Linked DNA regions of Homo sapiens: all the other regions are linked to region 1. Evidence: promoter capture Hi-C in 16 types of primary human blood cells and fetal thymus (Javierre and others, 2016). All regions are on one chromosome and are shown on one strand. The core of a region is centred on a gene start or on the middle of the fragment in contact, and the rest is flanking DNA. Distances in the headings are between cores, read along the strand shown. Region 1 holds the start of NCKIPSD (NCK interacting protein with SH3 domain). Region 2 overlaps ZNF589 (zinc finger protein 589). Region 3 overlaps ARIH2 (ariadne RBR E3 ubiquitin protein ligase 2). Region 4 has its middle 29 kb from the start of PLXNB1.

Region 1 (2,952 bases), core at 49-2,548:
AAAATAGGCAACTGGGTCAGACAGACACCCATAATCCCAACACTGGGAGGACTGCTTGAGTCCGGGAATTTGAGACTAGCCAGAGCAACATAGCAAGACCTTGTCTCTACTAAAAAAAAAAAAAAAAAAAAAAAAAAAAAAAGCTGAGTGTGGTGGTGCATGCCTGTAGTCCCAGAGACAGTAGGCTTGAGCCTGGAAGATCAAGGCTGCAATGAGCTTGATCATCCCACTGCACTCCAGCCTGGACGACAGAGCAAGACCCTGTCTCAAAAAATAAATACAGATAAAAATAGAAAACTTGCACACACTGGCCTGTACACGCCTCCTGCTTCCTGGGCTCGGGCTTCCTGTGGAGCGTAGCTGGACCATTCTCAGCCACAGTCTCTCCAGGACCCTGAGGGCCTCTTCCCTGGGTCTTCCAGGCACTCTTATTACACGGATTTCATATATCTGGAGATCTGGGCTGACTGGAAAGCTGGGTGGATCAAATAGGCTCTTAAGGCCACCGTGGTACCCCACTCCCTCTTTCAGCCCTCCTCTATGCTCTCAGAAAGGGGCATCGCAAATCTTAAGTCCTATAAAGACAATAAAACACAGCAAGATGATAGCGATTGATGGGGGTGGGAGCTTGACGGACAAATACTATAGGAGAGGGAAGGGAAAATTGTCCCAGGTAGAGGGAACAGAATATGCAAAGGCCCAATATAGAGAAAACCAGCCATAGCTGAAGAGAGAGGAGGAGTAGGGGTGGGGAGCAAAGATGGGAGGGCTTTAGACAGGGAATAGCCCCGCCTGGTTTCTGCTTTTGTGGCCCCCTTCTCCCCACACTTGCTCCCCACTGGCCACCACCGGCACTCGGTGAAGACAGGTGGTGAGGCCTAGACACACCGAGAGCCGGGCCCCGCGGGGGCTTCCAAGTGTCGGATCAGCAAGATCATCCTTTCGAGGTCGCCGTCCTTGCAATTAGTAGATGGGACCCACTGCCCCAGGGCGGTAGGGGCGCACCCGCTACGAGCGGAGCGCGCTTTCACCGGGAGGTAGGACGGGACGCAGCGCTCGGACTTAAGCGGGGAAAGGGAGCAGAGGGCTGGACGGGTGAAACTGAGGCCGGGGTGAGGAGTGAGGGTGCGGTGTCCGGGGATGAGGGGCCTGGAGCCGGGAGGGACCAGAGGAGACAGCGAGCTGTCGACCCCAGCCCCGCCGCACCTCTTGGGGCCGCGCGGGGGCGCTGCTCTCCGATGCGTGGAACGATACAGCCCGGGGCGGGGCTTCGGCGGGCGGGCGCGCGCGCGCCTGCGTAGTGTGTCACGGGGCGGGACAACCGCGGCGCGGCTCGGCGCTCCCGGCCTGGCGTTGTGGCGCCGCAGCCCTTGCCACCTTCCCTGCACCTGCCCTGCCCGGCCTCATGTACCGCGCGCTGTACGCGTTCCGCTCGGCGGAGCCCAACGCGCTGGCGTTCGCCGCGGGCGAGACCTTCCTGGTGCTAGAGCGAAGCAGCGCGCACTGGTGGCTGGCCGCGCGGGCGCGCAGTGGTGAGACGGGCTACGTGCCGCCAGCCTACCTGCGCCGCCTGCAGGTGAGTGCGCCCCTTCCCGCCCGGCCTCCGCGCCCCTGGGGCAGGACCCCTTCACAGCCCCGCGGAACCGACCCAGGGACCCCACCCTCTCCGGGACCCGAGGCCAGGACCTCTATCAGACAGGGAGTTTGAGAACCTGACCCTGAGACCCCCGGACCCACGGGGACTGAGACCCCAAGTGTCAGCATCACCCACAAAAGACCAGGCCCTTGACAGACCAACTCCCGATCGACCAAAAGCCTAACTCTGGGACTGAGACTCCTCAGGACCCCAGACCCTTCAGTATCGAGTCCGCCATCTGAATGGCGACCCTGAGCCCCACCGAATCCTGGCCAATTATTCAAATCCCTGAGACCCCAGATCCTTAATATGCCCCTTCTCTGGATTCCTAGGACCCCACAACCAACCTCCCTCCCTCCCTCCCTCCCTCCCTCCCTCCCTCCCTTCCTTCTTCCCCCAACCCCGCGCCTTGCCCCCCGTTGGAGCCACCACTGAGACCTGGACCACCTTGGACACCACCTGTTTCCCTAGCCATTCTCCAGGTCCTCAACCCCCCAACTTGGACCCTAGAGCCATAGACACCTCCATCCCCTATGTAACACCCAAGCTTTGGTACTTCAGTGTCTTTCACTAGCCTGTGTTCAGCCACCCTCTAAGCTCTTCTTAAGTCTCTACCAACCTTATTTGAACCAAGGACCCATGCCCCTGCTGACACTGTCTGCTCCACTCCCCAACCCTGACTTCTCAAACTTTCTTGCTTTGAAAATGGGTTCCATCCCTACTTGTTCCCAGCCTGGAGTGGGGACTGCTCACATTGTGATGAAGTGAGTTCTTATAGCTTCTCCTGGTCTGATCGTGGCCCCATTTCCTTCCAGTGGAAGCTGCAGTCCCAGTTCCTGTTTCCCTAAGAGTAGCCCTGCTGCGGGGGTTGGGGTGCGTATCTCCAGCTGGTCTATTCTGACCACAGGGGGAAGAAGGGCCCAGAGCTGCCGGGCCTGTGCCAGACACCCCCGCCCCGTCCTAGTCCTTATCCTTTAGGAAACATCCTGTCCCAGCCCAGTTCAGGACAGAAATAACGGGATAAATTTGGAAGTGTCATCTGGTCTTACCAGGAAGGATGGGCCCTGGGGGCCTAGGGGCTTCCTCATAGACCCTTGGCGTGATCCCATCTAGGAGTGCCAGGGGTGGGAGTGGGGGCCGTGGACACCATGGCTGCTGTGTGTCAGACCCAACCTTTTTGGGAATGGGGTCTCATTGAAGGCCTCTGAGGAAAAGTCCTGTCTCTTCCCCTACTGGGCATAGGTCAAGGGCCTGTGAGTCCCCTGCCGCCAGCCAGGACCAGTGGGGCAAGGTGTTTGGGGAGGGCAGAGAGGCTA
Region 2 (3,066 bases), core at 319-2,818, 420 kb after region 1:
TGCGGCCTGCCATGCCCAAGCCACCCCCGACCGCCATGGGCTCGCATGCAGCCCGAGACTCCCCGACAGGCGCTGCCCGTCCCATCGACCGCCCAAGGGCTGAGGTGTGCAGGTGTGAGGCACAGGACTAGCAGGCAGCTCCACCCACAGCCCCAGTGCGGGATCCACTAGGGGAAGTCAGCTGGGCTCCTGAGTTGGGTGGGGTCTTGGAGAACTTTTGTCTAGCTGGAGGATTGTATATGCACCAAGCAGCACTCTCTGTCTAGCTCGGGGTTTGTGGATGCACCAATCAGCACTCTGTATCTAACTAACCTGGTGGGGACTTGGAAAACTTTTATGTCTAGCTAGAGGATTGTAAATGCACCAATCAGCACTCTGTGTCTAGCTCAAGGTTTGTAAACGCACCAATCAGTGCTCTGTGTCTAGCTAATCTAGCGGGGACTTGGAGAACTTGTGTCTAGCTAAAGGATTGTAAACGCACCAATCAGCACTGTGTCTAGCTAAAGGTTTGTAAACGCGTGTCTAGCTAATCTAGTGGGGACTTGGAAAATTTTTGTCTAGCTAGAGGCTTGTAAATGCACCAATCAGCACTCTGTGTCTAGCTCAGGGATTGTAAATGCACCAATCAGCACCCTGTCAAAACGGACCAATATGCTCTCTGTAAAATGGACCAATCAGCAGGATGTGGGTGGGGCCGGATAAGGGGATAAAAGCAGGCTACCCGAGCCAGCAGCGGCAAGCCACTCAGGTCCCCTTCCATGCTGTGGAAGCTTTGTTTTTTCACTCTTCACAATAAATCTTCCTGCTGGTCACTCTTTGGGTCCGCGCCGCCTTTAAGAGCTGTAACACTAACCGCAAAGGTCCGCAGCTTCACTCCTGAAACCAGCAAGACCACGAACCCACCGGAAGGAACTAACAACTCCAGATGCGCTGCCTTTAAGAGCCGTAACACTGCTAAGGTCTGCAGCTTCACTCCTAAGCGAGACCACAAACCCACCAGAAGTTAGAAACTCTGGACACGTCCGAACATCAGAAGGAACAAACTCCAGACACACCATGTTTAAGAATTGTAACACTCACCGTGAGGGTCCACGGCTTCATTCTTGAAGTCAGCAAGACCAAGAACCCACCAATTCCAGACACATTAGGGTGGTAGGCCAGGCATGGGGGAGATCCTACATTCCAGGTACCCCTAGCCCTTCCCCTAAGCAGGCTAACCTTGGGGATTCCCTGGAGATCAACCACTTCCAGTGAGAGGGAGTGGACAAAAGCCTCTGGACCAGCCATTCCTTCTCTCTCTCCAAGTCCTTTTTCCTCTCTAGCATCAAAACCAAGCCTAAGTATTTTGAGGTTACATGAACATCTCTCCCCTTCTTTTCTGTGGCAGAGTCCCTTAGCAAATAGAGGCACTGGGGCCTGAGTGGATAGCTCTCCAAGGTACACTCATTGACACAGGGTATCAGGTAGGGCTAGCCCCAGCCCAAGGGAGTAAGGCAAACTGTCAGAACCTGGGCCATATGGGCCCTGGAGTGTGAGGAGAGACAAATGGCTAAAGGCCCTGGCACCATTCCTGGATGTAATTTAGCCACCCGAGCATGGCTAAAACACTGGGTACTGAGATTGGAGGATTTAAGAGGAGCTGTGTTTAAAATACCCTTAAACCTGGTATTGGAAGGCTGATGATGCAGCATTGCTAGATCCCTGTCATTGAAGGCCAAGGTGGCGTGGCTATGTTTAAGTCCTGAGTCTGAAGAACTTTTAGAGTGTGGTTAAAGAATCTTGGATTTGGGACTGGAGGGTTAGGAAGGGGACCTGGTAAAGGTGTCCCTCAGATTGTAGGGCTGGAGACTGAACTCTGAGTAAAATCTAAAGGTGGGGTAGGAGAGGAAACAGCAAAGGCTAGAGATGTAGAAAAAAATAAAGCAGGAGAGTGTCATGGAAGCTAATGGAAGAACACAGTTGCAGAAGGAAGTAGTCAGATGCAAAGACCATTCCTCCAAGGGGACCGTCACTTGACACCTCTGCTCTCAGAAGTTAGATCTCTGTCATCTTCACATCTAAAGGAATGTAAGGGGTCAAAAGACTGTCCCCAAAGCTCTTAGAACAAGAGTGGGGTGGGCGTACAGTGGATAGATTTGACTCCAAGTATCTCTTAAGGGGCCACTTCCAGCCAACACCTTACTCTCACTCCATGAAGGTTTCTCCCGAGTGTGTCCTCTGACACGTGACAAGTAATGATGTCCACGTACAGCTCTGTCCACATTACCTTACAAACAAGGCTTCTCCCTAAGCATTTCCGCTGGTGTGGCTGATGGCTGACTTGTTGCTAAAATCACATCCTCACTCCTTGCACCTCTAAAGCTTTTCCCCGAGTGTATCTTCTGGTGTATGATGAGCTGTGACTTTCTCCTAAAGCTTTGCCCACACTCCACGCATGCATAAGGCTTCTCCCCCGAGTGTATCCTCTGATGTAAGCTGAGAGTGGACTTGTGGCTAAAGTTTCGCCCACACTCGATGCATGCGTAAGGTTTCTCTCCTGTGTGTGTCCTCCAGTGTCTGTTGAGGAGTATCTTCCGGCCAAATCCCCGCCCACATTCCCCACACACATAAGGCTTCTCCCCTGAATGTGTCTGCTCGTGTGCGAGGAGAGTTGATTTATCACAAAAGCCTCGCCCACACTGGCTGCACACATAAGGTTTTTCCTTGGAGTGTGTACTCCGGTGGTAGTGGAGGGTTGACTGAGCTATAAAGCCTCGCCCACACTCTCCGCAGACATAAGGCTTTTCTCCTGTGTGTGTCCTCTGGTGTCTGATGAGCTGTGATTTCGTGATAAAGCCTTGCCCACACTCCGTGCATGCATAAGGCTTCTCCCCAGAGTGTATCCTCTGATGTACACTAAGAGCGGACTTGAGGCTAAAGTTTCGCCCACACTCAAAGCACGTGTAAGGCTTCTCTCCCGTGTGTGTCCTCCAGTGTCCATTGAGGACTATCCTCCGGCTAAATCCCCGCCCACATTCCCCACACACATAAGGCTTCTCCCCTGAGTGTGTTCTCCGATGTGATTTG
Region 3 (2,747 bases), core at 55-2,554, 260 kb before region 1:
ACCATGATAAAACATAACCAAGAAAAAAAACCCCAATATTCCACAGACATAGACACAAAAATCCTTAATTTAAAAATTTGCCATTGCACTGAAGCCTGGACAAGAGTGAAACTCCACAGGGGGAAAAAAAACACTAATAAATGAATTTATGAATTTACTAAGGTAAAAAAAATACAAAGTTGGCCTGGTACACTGGCTCACGCTTGTAATCCCAGCACTTTCAGAGGCTAAGGCAGGCAAATCACTTGAGCCCAGGAGTTCAAGACCAGCCAAGGCAACATGGCAAAACCCTGTCTCTACAAAAAGTACAAAAAATTAGCTGGGCATGGTGACATGAACCTGTTGTCCCATCTACCTGGGAGGCTGAGGTAGAAGGATCACTTGAACCTGGGAGGTTGAGGTTGCAGTGAACCATGATAGCTCTACTGCACTCCAGCCTGGGTGACAGGGCAAGACACTGTCACAAAATAAAAATTAAAAAAAAAAAAAAAAAGAAGAAGAAAGAAAATACAAAGTCAATATATACAAAAACCAAATGTTAGAATTCAAAGAAAGAGCCATAAAAGTATTTCTATATAGCAGCAAATTGAAAAATTAAGTGGGTGAATTTTAATAATTTATTTTATTTAACCTAATATATCTGAAATTGTATTATTTCAACATGTAACACATAAAAAAGCATTGATAATCTATTTTTATCCTTTGTTTCATTCTAAGTCCAGTCTGTATTTTAGACTTACGGCACATCTCAATTCAAACTGACTGTATTTCAAATGAGCAATGGCCACACATAGCTACCATACCGGGCAGCACAGCTACAGATTTTGAACACAACAATCAAAACCAATCAAAATGAAAATCCCAATCAAAATCACAAGCTTTTTAATAAAATTAATAGTTGATTGCAAAATCTGTAGAAATGTAAAGGATCCAGAATATCCAAAGCAATCTTGAAAGAAAAGAGCAAAGTTGAAAGACTTACACCATCTGACTTCAAGACTTACTATAAAGCTACATACGGTAATCAAGACAGTGGAGATACTGGACTTCATCAAAATTAAGCTTTTACTCAACAGACATCATTTAGAAAATGGAAAAGTAGGAAGCAGAACTAGATGGAGTAAAAAAAGGAAAAAAAGAAAATGGAATAGACAGACCTATAGATCAATAGAACAAAACAGAGTCTAAAAGGAAACTCATACATGTATGGTAAATTTTCAACAAAGGTGCCAATGTAATTCAATGGAGAAAAAAAGTCTTTTCAACAAAGGGTTCTGGAACAACTGAATAATTGTTTATACATAACAAACAAAACACAGAACACAGACCATTACTTCATACCACACAAAAATTAACTCAAAAGAGTTCACATATCTAAATGTAAAACCTAAAACTATAAAATTGCTAAAAGAAAGCACAGAAGAAAATTGTGCCTTAGTTTAGGCAAAGATTTCTAGATATGACACTAAAAGCACAATCCTTAAAAGAAAAATTTTTTAAAAAAAGAAAATAAAGATAAACTGGACTTCATCAAAATTAAGCTTTTACTCTTCAAAAGACACCATTTAGAAAATGGAAAAGTAGGAAGCAGAACTAGATGGAGTAAAAAAAAGATTAAAAAAAAAAGATACAGGTAACAGGATGGGAGAAAATATCTGCAAATCATACATCTGATAAAATAATTCAAACTATGTAAAGAATTCTCTCTTAGAACTCAGTAAGGCACAAAATGCAATTTTTAAAAACAGACAAAGTATTTGAACAGACATTTCACCACAAAAAATAAATGTATGAATAGCAAATAAGCACAAGGAAAGATCATTAATTACATTAGTGGTTAATGACACTAGTCATTAGGGAATGCAAATTAAAACCACAAGGTATTACACACTCACTAGAATGATTATAATCCAGAAGACCTAAAATACCAAGTGCTAACAAGGAAGCAGAGAAACTGGAACCCTTACATAATGCTAGTGGGAATGTAAAGTAGTAGAGCCACTTTGGAAAACAGTTTATTTCTTAAAATGTTAAACACGGCTGGGCACGATGGCTCACACCTGTAATCCCAGGCCAAGGCAGGCGGATCACGAGGTCAGGAGATAGAGACCATCCTGGCTAACACGGTGAAACCCCCGACTCTACTAAAAACACAAAAAACTAGCCGGGCGTCACGGCGGGCGCCTGTAGTCCCAGCTACTCAGGAGGCTGAGGCAGGAGAATGCCATGAACCCAGGAGGTGGAGCTTGCAGTGAGCCGAGATCGTGCCACTGCACTCCAGCCTAGGCAACAGAGCACGACTCCGTCTCAAAAATAAATAAATAAATAAATGTTAAACATACACTTACCATGTGACCCAGCAATCCCACTCCTAGTTATCTATACAAGAGAAATGAAAACACATGGCTATATTAAGCCCTGGCCATGAATGGTCACAGCAGCATACTGCGTAGTAGCCCAAAATTAGAAACAACCCAATGTCCCTCAACTTACAAATGAATGGGTAAACAAAATGTGGCATATCCATACAATGGAAAATCATTATTCAGCAATAAAAGAGAACACACTACTGATGCATGATACAATATGGATGAACCTCAACCATTATGCTAAGAGAAAGAACCAGGTAACAAAAGATTACATATTGTATAATTCAAATTGTATGAAATTTCTAGAAAAGGCAAAACTACTGAGACAGAAGATCAGTAGTCACTTGGGAACAGGGATCAACTATAAATGAACACGGG
Region 4 (3,020 bases), core at 121-2,620, 280 kb after region 1:
AGTCCTTGTCCCTAAGGAGCCATGTTGGTCTTGTCTGTGCCGGGGGTAGTCATAGCTGCTATTCTTCGCTGTGGCTCCATTGTCCCTTCTTTCCCATTTCTGCCGGATGTGGGGACCACAGTCAGGTCAGCAGCCAGGTGCCATCATTTGGGAGCATGTGAGCTTGGATGCTCTGGCCAGGTTTTCATAGCCACCCAGAATGGTCCTGACTTTTCCCGTTGGAGACCATGGAATGGGTCTCCATCTTGACCATCTCTGGGAGCAGGGTGGATGGGAAATCCACTTGAGGGTGGACTTCAAGCAGACACAGAGGGAAGCAGCCTTGGTCAGCACCACAGACCTCGACAGAGCCATGCCTCTGTTCCAGAGGCCTCTCTGTTCCAGGTTCAGGCCCCTGCAGGTTTTAGGGGTAGGTGAAGGCTCCCGGGAGAGGGGGGCCATGTGCCTGCAAGCCTGGGCACGTGCCCGCGGGAGGGGTGAGTACTGAACGTGCTTTGAGTCACTCACTGAGTCATGGCTCAGCCGCCACAGAACATTGTTATAATAACAGACATAGAGAAGAAAAACCTGGCACAAGAAGATAGGAAATTCTGTCTTCACTCCAAACCATGACCAAGAATGGAGATTCCAACACCAGCAAGAATTTGTGATCGCTTAACTTGGGTCATGACCACAATTTCAGCATAGAACATTTGTAATTCAGTTTGATCAATCTTTTCCTAATTTTTATTAAGACTGCAACGAAAGTGTGCCCTCATTATTACATTTTTCACAAACCTGTTAGCATACAAAGGGCCTTTGTTTCTCATTACCACCCGGGGCTCCTTAAGGCGTTTTATGGAGTGATGTGCTTTATTAAAAAGCGTTTTCACCAACTTAAAAGTTGGAATAATTGTCCAAATGGTTACATGACCCAGGAGTTCTATATTTTTATTAATTTTCTGATACTGAAATAATCGTGCTAATTAAGATAACAGCTGAATTTATGCTGATGAATGTTGGAATTCTTAGAAGCCACCTGAAACCTTCCAAATGGTCAGGACCTGGATCCCACTGGCCAGTGCCAACAGGTGACTCTGGGTGGTGCTGGGGGATACAGGGAACCTAGCTGTGTTCTGCTTGGCACCAATGGCTGCTGATGCATGTGTTTCCTCCACCAGGTTCCCTAAGGATGCCACATTGAAGAACAAATACACCCCAAACTACCTAGGTCAGCTGACTGGCGATGTTTTATGGATCTCTCTTTAAAAGTGTTCTGTCGGCCAGGCGCAGTGGCTCACCCCTGTAATCCCAACACTTTGGGAGGCCGAGGCAGGCGGATCATCTGAGGTCAGGAGTTTGAGACCAGCCTGCCCAACATGGCAAAACCCCGTCTCTTCTAAAAATACAAAAAATTAGCCAGGTGTGGTGGCGGGCGCCTCTCATCCCAGCTACTCAGGAGGCTGAGACAGGAGAATCGCTTGAACCCGGGAGGCGGAGGTTGCACTGAGTCGAGATCGCGCCACTGCACTCCAGCCTGGGTGACGAGCAAAACTCCATCTCAAAAAAAAAAAAAAAAAAGTGTTCTCTGTCTTAATTAAGGATGATGGTTTATCCAATTCCAAATGTTTACCAAAAATCTAAGATAAGGATATCACCATGATGTTTGAAAGAGAATTTATGCCCTGGTTGTGATGTTGGGGTTTTATTGATAAGAGTTTCAGTTATCTGGATGATATGTGCACGTGTAAGGAAACAGAATGGTTTGCCAGTTGTCCAGGTGGCCATGAAGAGAACCTCTGGAGGTCTAGGAATGTGAAGCTCAGATTTTGGAAACCTGGTCCGGTGTCCTGGGCCACAGGTAAGTGGCTGAAGCTGGTGGTTTGCTGCCATCTTCTGGCCATAGTGTGGAATTTATCAGAAGCAGCTACCAATGAGGGTGTCTGGAGCTCTATAAATTGCAAGCCTGGGCAAGATAGCCAGACCCCATCTTTACGAAAACTGTTTAAAAATTAGCTGGGCATGGTAGCACACATCTGTAGTCTCAGCTATTTAAGAGGTTGAGGTGGGAGGATTGCTGGACTCCAGGAGTTTGAGGCTGCAGTGAAAGATTATGCCACTCCACTCCAGACTGGGTGACAGTGAGACCCTGTCTCTTCAAAAAAAGAGAGAGAGAAATCACAACAGTGGAATTCAGTAGTGCTGGAGCTTAGTGAGTAATCTTACCCTGTCTTTAACGTGAATTCTGGTTTTAGGGTGAGCTATGTCTTAGGACATAGTTGAGATAACAGTGAGTGACTAGTCAAGAAAACAGCCGGGCACAGTGGCTCACACCTGTAATCCCAGCACTTTGGGAGGCCAAGGTGGGTGGATCACTTGAGGTCAGGAGTTCGAGACCACCCTGATCAACATGGTGAAACCCCATCTCTACTGAAAATACAGAAATTAGCCGGGTGTGATTGTGTGCACCTGTGATCCCAGCTACTGGGGAGGCTGAGGAAGGAAAATCACTTGAACCTGGGAGGCAGAGGTTTCAGTGAGCTGAGATTATGCCACCACACTCCAGCCTGAGCTGAGATTATGCCACCACACTCCAGCCTGAGCTGAGATTATGCCACCACACTCCAGCCTGAGCAGCAGAATGAGACTCTGTCTCAAAAAGAAAACAACAACAACAACAACAAAAAACCAGAAACCACTCTAGGTGTTTCCAATGGAAGGAATTTAAATATAAGGGATTGATTATGAAAGTGTGTGAAGGACAAAAAGGGGAGTAGTTATCCAGCGGTGAGTGACTATAGAAGCCTCTGTCACCTATAAGCTGGCAAAGGGGGCAGCAGTGTTACCCACAGCCTCTGACTGCTGAGTCAGTGGCGCCCGTGGGAAGCCAGGAGCTGCATGCTGGCTGACGCTGCAGGTGCCTGGGAACCTGCTAACCTGGCCCCTCCACCCATGCTGGTGAGTTGGTGCTGCTGGGGCACCTGCTGCCCTAGTGAATGGGTGCCACCAGGAAGAGAGGATTCAAGCCTGTCTTGCTCAAG

Evidence for each region. Contacts are between HindIII fragments. The CHiCAGO score rates a contact against its expected background, and 5 or more counts as called.
Region 2: a contact is called between a fragment that was not itself captured here and the fragment with the promoter of NCKIPSD in region 1, in 1 of 17 cell types (neutrophils). The highest score is 5.3, in neutrophils.
Region 3: a contact is called between a fragment that was not itself captured here and the fragment with the promoter of NCKIPSD in region 1, in 4 of 17 cell types (M2 macrophages, naive CD8 T cells, megakaryocytes and 1 more). The highest score is 5.9, in M2 macrophages.
Region 4: a contact is called between a fragment that was not itself captured here and the fragment with the promoter of NCKIPSD in region 1, in 1 of 17 cell types (neutrophils). The highest score is 8.6, in neutrophils.

What each region holds. Positions count from the first base shown.
Region 1 is chr3:48,684,261-48,687,212 of GRCh38, reverse strand. It overlaps NCKIPSD (NCK interacting protein with SH3 domain), which reads left to right and starts at 1,298. Exons shown (of 13, transcript NM_016453.4): 1 at 1,298-1,576. The coding sequence starts at 1,406. RefSeq lists enhancers at 791-860, 455-1,186 and silencers at 1,383-1,677, 1,071-1,790. The HindIII fragment of the contact is 7,513 bases long and covers 1-2,185 here.
Region 2 is chr3:48,268,984-48,272,049 of GRCh38, reverse strand. ZNF589 (zinc finger protein 589) reads right to left here. Exons shown (of 4, transcript NM_016089.3): 4 at 1,060-3,066. Among named protein-coding and RNA genes, the nearest start is that of ZNF589, 29 kb to the right of the region's middle. The HindIII fragment of the contact is 1,591 bases long and covers 773-2,363 here.
Region 3 is chr3:48,948,698-48,951,444 of GRCh38, reverse strand. The region is part of intron 3 of ARIH2 (ariadne RBR E3 ubiquitin protein ligase 2); the gene reads right to left. Among named protein-coding and RNA genes, the nearest start is that of ARIH2OS, 31 kb to the right of the region's middle. The HindIII fragment of the contact is 479 bases long and covers 1,065-1,543 here.
Region 4 is chr3:48,399,910-48,402,929 of GRCh38, reverse strand. No RefSeq gene overlaps it. Among named protein-coding and RNA genes, the nearest start is that of PLXNB1, 29 kb to the left of the region's middle. The HindIII fragment of the contact is 4,211 bases long and covers 1-3,020 here.